2 separate regions of the Homo sapiens genome follow, and region 2 is linked to region 1. The links are contacts of gene promoters, found by promoter capture Hi-C in blood cells and fetal thymus (Javierre and others, 2016). All regions are on one chromosome and are shown on one strand. Each heading gives the region's core, a stretch centred on a gene start or on the middle of the fragment in contact. The rest is flanking DNA. Distances are from core to core; before and after follow the strand shown. Region 1 holds the start of KRTAP4-4 (keratin associated protein 4-4). Region 2 overlaps LOC105371777 (a long non-coding RNA gene).

Region 1 (2,739 bases), core at 143-2,642:
TGTTATTGTATATATTATATATATATTTATACATACTATTAAATACAAACATATATGAAGAATATATATTATATATTCATAAATATGTAAATATATATATTCCTATATTACCTATATATAAGGTTCTCTATCTACCCATCTATATATGTATAATATATATATATATTCCTAAGGTCCTTTGGCAGAATATATATATTCCCCCAAACCTGTGTGTGTGTGAGTGTATATATATATATACATATACATCAAAAGAAAATTATGGGCCTAGAAGAATTAAAATCACCCAAGGTCAGACATAATGTGTGTGTATGTGTGCGTGTGTGTGTGTATATATATATATATATATATATATACACACACACACGCACACATACACACACATACATACACACACATATATGTGTGTGTATGTGTGTATATTTATATATAGTGTGCATATTTATATATAGTGTGTATATTTATATATAGTGTGTATATACGTGTGTGTGTATACTATATATAGTATATATATGTATATATATAATATATATTATATATATATATATATATTATATATATATAGCAAGGACACTGGGTCCTTTACCTTAGGTTGGCAAGTAAACCTTAGAAATAGAGGAGATGACTCAATGTGATTGTTAAAGCCAGAGAGACAGGAAGGAAAAGTCAGAAGGAAAATCAGCCCCTCAGAGCAGAGAGCGGAGGGACCTGAACCTTTTAGTATAGCTGATCTCTGTAGCCAATTTCCCCTAAAGGCCCTGAAACTGAGTTTTGGAGTGTTGTTTCTCAAGAAAAAGAAGCATCGATAATTCATGACTTAGATGTCCACCTTAAAACAATTCTGCTTTCCCCAGTAGAACATCTAGAAAATGGGTCATGATTCATTGTATGGAAGGTGGCAAGGAATATATCCTAATAGTATTTGTTTTCATGCCACTGGTCACCTGTTTCACATTCAAACCTTCATTGCTCACTTGATCTATAACAAACATGCCATGAGATTAAAGCACAGCTTTCTCCTCCTGAGTCACCAAAAGAAAATTACGGGCCTAGAAGAATTAAAATCACCCAAGGTCAGACATAATGTATTAAGGAAAATGAGGCTGCAGCACATGGTACCTGCAGGCAGATGTCACATGGCAGCTCAAGGAGGAAGCTGCAGCAAGAGGCACACAAGAGGTTGTTCAAGAAGAGCTGACCTGAAGAATCCTAACACACCAGGGGAAGGAAATAATGCTTTTCTCCATGTTGACAAATTTAAGCAGAAAAACAAACTTGCCTAATTTGATAATTGCCTGCTCATCAGAACAAACAATGACAAGGAAAGAGTGCTGCATCCGATGACATCAGCCCTGAGCAGGGTATAAAAGAGGATCTGGGGCAAGGAGACTTCCAAGCCTTCCAAACCCTCCTTCCTGGAAACCCACCCAGAACCTCCACCCTCTGACACCATGGTCAACTCCTGTTGTGGCTCTGTGTGCTCTGACCAGGGCTGTGGCCTAGAGAACTGCTGCCGTCCCAGCTACTGCCAGACCACCTGCTGCAGGACCACCTGCTGCCGCCCCAGCTGCTGTGTGTCCAGCTGCTGCAGACCCCAGTGCTGCCAGACCACCTGCTGCAGGACCACCTGCTGCCACCCCAGCTGCTGTGTGTCCAGCTGCTGCAGACCCCAGTGCTGCCAGTCTGTGTGCTGCCAGCCCACCTGCTGCAGACCCCAATGCTGCCAGACTACCTGCTGTAGGACCACCTGCTGCCGCCCCAGCTGCTGCAGGCCCCAGTGCTGCCAGTCTGTGTGCTGCCAGCCCACCTGCTGCTGCCCCAGCTACTGTGTGTCCAGCTGCTGCAGACCCCAGTGCTGCCAGACCACCTGCTGCAGAACCACCTGCTGCCGCCCCAGCTGCTGTGTGTCCAGGTGCTACAGGCCCCATTGTGGCCAGTCTCTATGCTGCTAGCCCATCTGCTGGCAAACCACCTGCTACAGGACCACCTGCTGCCACCCCAGCTATTGCATTTCCAGCTGCTGCCAGCCTTCCTGCAGTATCTCTAGCAGCAGTAGCTCCTCCTGCTGTGGCTTCAGCTGCTGCAGGCTCTCCTGCTGCATCTCCAGTTGCTGCCGCCCCAACTGCTGCCAGACCATGTGCTGCCGCCCAACCTGCTCTAGTGCTTCTTGCTGCTGAGGCTGTCATCTGGACTCACCAGATTCTCATCAACCAGCATTCTTGATGTAGCTCATCTATGAGCTGAGTTATGGGAAGCTAGTTGGAAAACTTCAGTTCCAACCAATTCTTAGATTGAATCTGGCCTCCAAATATATGCTCCCCCCACATTTTACCTCTCTACCAAATGAACATAAGTTGTAATTTGCTCTGAAATCTGTCAACTATCTTAATTGAAATATTTGCTCTCTGCCATAATTTCTCATATGGAGCTATTCCATTTTAAACAAATATTTATCTAAATAAATCTTAAATAAATTTTCAGGCATAGAAATATACAGATACTGTGTCTCATTATTTTTCTTTTTTGAGTGTGGTCAATTACCAGTCAATTTTTCTGTTGTTCTTCTCTGCAGAATGTAATTTCAGGGGCACCACCTCTATTTCCTCAGCACACTTTATTCTAATATACAATGGTGGTTTCTTAGAGCAAGCACCTGGAACTCTCTTCTTGAAGAGTTTCTCTAGCCAAGGAGCAAGCTCTGGACTGTAGAGTTAAAGCCTCTTGGAATAGTATTCAACAAAT
Region 2 (2,819 bases), core at 157-2,656, 260 kb after region 1:
GTTGAACAGTGAGAACACATGGACACGGGGGGTGGGAGGCGCATCACATACTGGGGACTGTCGGGGCGTGGAGGGCTGTGGGAGGAGAGCATTAGGACAAATATCTAATGTAGATGACAGGCTGATGCGTGCAGCAAACCACCATGGCGCATCAATACCTATGTAACAAACCTGGATGTTCTGCACCTGTACCCCAGAACTTAAAGTATAATATAAAAAATAGAAAGACATTTTTCTATGGAATGTGAAGGCTACTTCAGTACCAAATAACAGTCTCTTGTGATGAGAGCACCATGTCTGCCAGGCGGCATCTGTTGCACAGCACTCTGCTGTGTCTTCCAGCCTCTGCCTCGTTCCCACTTCAGCCGGGCGTTCCTGCTTACATCTGTGGCAAGCTCTCAGCTAGCTTCTCCTCCCAGACTGAGAATCCTCCTAAACTGCACCTCTTGCCATTTACCCTCTAGGGGACAATAGACTTCTTCATCTTGTACCTGGGTGATACCAGGCTCTCAGAATTCCTAGGGATCAGAGGGGTGGGTAGAAGGACAGGTGGATCAGGTAGATGCATGAAGAGAGGCAACGCCAGTTACTCAGACTCTGCCTGGGCTACCAGAGTCCTGAGCTTCTTGCCCCCATTCGGGAGGTGTTAGGGGTCTCACTCCGAATCATTACTAGTTTGTTCTTTAGCTTTTATTTCCATTTCTTCCGTGTGTGTGTGTGTGTGTGTGTGTGTGTGCTGCCACTGATACTACTTTTCCCTCTCAGCGATTAAAAGAAAAAAAGATACATTTGAAAAAGTGGTGTATTATCTATTCTGTTAATATGATGTCAGTATTTATGAGGTGTGGTCTTTGTGCCTCTTTTTAAAGATATAAGGAATTACTCCATCGCCAAAGTTCGGTGGCTTCTCATATCACAGAGTAAAAGGCAGGTTCCTTGCTGGATGATGGCATCCACATCCCTCACCATTCACCTCCGAATTGCTGAGGTCCTTTCCACCACCCTCCCTTCCATCCCTGAGCACCCCCACATCCCCACTGCTCCACCCACACTCACACCTAAACTGCTATAGACCTTTGCACCTGAGCTGCCATATGGCTCTTTTCTTCCTGCTGTCATTCAAATACCACTCTCACAGGGAGGCCCATTCTCATCTCTCTACACACAAGGGCAACTTTCCCAGCCCTCCCCACCCTTCCTTTTTCTCCTCTGACCTACTCCCTTCACCTCTAGCTCCCACCCCTGAATCTAAGTTCCGCCAGGGCAGAAACGTTTGTGTTTTTTTAACTACTGTATCCCCAGCATCTGCAACAAAACCTTGCACACACTGATATTCACACAGACTTGTGAATTCATGAATGAATGCGTGAGTGAATGAATGAATACATCATATACTATACAAGGTTCATAGTAAAAAATAGCAGCCCCTGGTGTCCCCACTCCTGAATGTTTCTCTCTGAAATCTTTTAGCTATTGTTTCTGGTATTAACCTGCATATCTCTAAGGAATATGCTTACACTGCTATTTCTTGTTTTATCAACTTAAGACGTTAAAGACCGGGCACGGTGGCTCACGCCTGTAATCCCAGCACTTTGGGAGGCCGAGGTGGGCGGATCACGAGGTCAGGAGTTGGAGACCATCCTGGCTAACACGGTGAAGCCCCGTCTCTACTAAATATACAAAAAAAAATTAGCCGGGCGAGGTGATGGGCACCTGTAGTCCCAGCTACTCGGGAGGCTGAGGCAGGAGAATGGCGTGAACCCAGGAGGTGGAGCTTGCAGTGAGCCGAGATCACGCCACCGCACTCCAGCCTGGGCGACAGAGCGAGACTCCGTCTCAAAAAAAAAAAAAAAAAAAAAAAGAAGACATTAAAGACCTAAATCCCCATTGTAGAAGATGGCATCACAGGATTCTTACACCATCTCACACCTCCGGTTGCCATTTCTCTACCTTTCCAGTGTGATTACATCACATTGTCTTATAATTTACATATATATTATCTGTATGGGGTTTATATCCCTTTGCTAGAATGAAGCCTTGTCAGCAGGAATTTGTGTTTGTCTTGCTCACGGAAGTATCCTCATGGCCTAGAACAGTGCCAGGCCCTCAGCAGGTACTGAGTAAATATTTGTGGAGTGAATGGATGAATTCTGAGATTTATGGGCTGTGACTTATCCACCAGTTACTCATCGCTGCACTTTAGGGATGCGTGGGCCACCTCCATGTCCCTGTGCTTTTCCAGCTTGGACTCTCCCTCAAACTCTGCACTTTCAGGAAAACTTCAATGACTCCCTCCCACCCAGCTTTACTTGGGGATCCTTCCTCTATATCCACAAATCTTTTCGTGAACATTATATATAATTCCCGATTAGTCACCGTCTCCGGCTAGGCTGCCGCCTCCTCGGAATCATGGACTGTGTCTTGATTTCTGAACCCTATTGGCTATCACAGCATCCCACCTATTGTAATTGATTCTCAAGCAGCTATGAATGAAGGACACACAGTCCCTGCTTGCCACTTGGAGGCAAGAAAGAAACGACATCTTCCTGTTCCTGGTGAGCCCTAGGGTGAGTCACTTCACCATTTACAGAGATAACATGTGGCTCGATTGCTTCTTCTTTCACTCTTCACTTCCCCAGGTTAATAATTGCCAGATCATGTCATACTCTTTATTTTTTCAACCATTTCACTTCTTGCCATCCCTTTCCATGTCCAAATCTCCCTCAGAAATAAAAATAAATTTCAAATTAGTCAGAGCATCGTGACTTCTTTCAAAGTTAGAATTACTGCCTTATGAAACATGTGATTCAATGTGGGGC

What was found. The method cuts DNA at HindIII sites, captures the fragments that hold promoters and counts their contacts. A CHiCAGO score of 5 or more calls a contact.
Region 2: a fragment that was not itself captured here is called in contact with the fragment with the promoter of KRTAP4-4 in region 1 in 1 of 17 cell types (neutrophils); the score reaches 5.7 in neutrophils.

Annotation. Positions count from the first base shown.
Region 1 is chr17:41,159,401-41,162,139 of GRCh38, reverse strand. It overlaps KRTAP4-4 (keratin associated protein 4-4), which reads left to right and starts at 1,392. Exons shown (of 1, transcript NM_032524.2): 1 at 1,392-2,491. The coding sequence starts at 1,449. The coding sequence ends at 1,949. The HindIII fragment of the contact is 13,067 bases long and covers 1-2,739 here.
Region 2 is chr17:40,903,089-40,905,907 of GRCh38, reverse strand. All of the region lies in intron 1 of LOC105371777 (a long non-coding RNA gene), which reads right to left. Among named protein-coding and RNA genes, the nearest start is that of KRT20, 19 kb to the right of the region's middle. The HindIII fragment of the contact is 4,098 bases long and covers 1-2,819 here.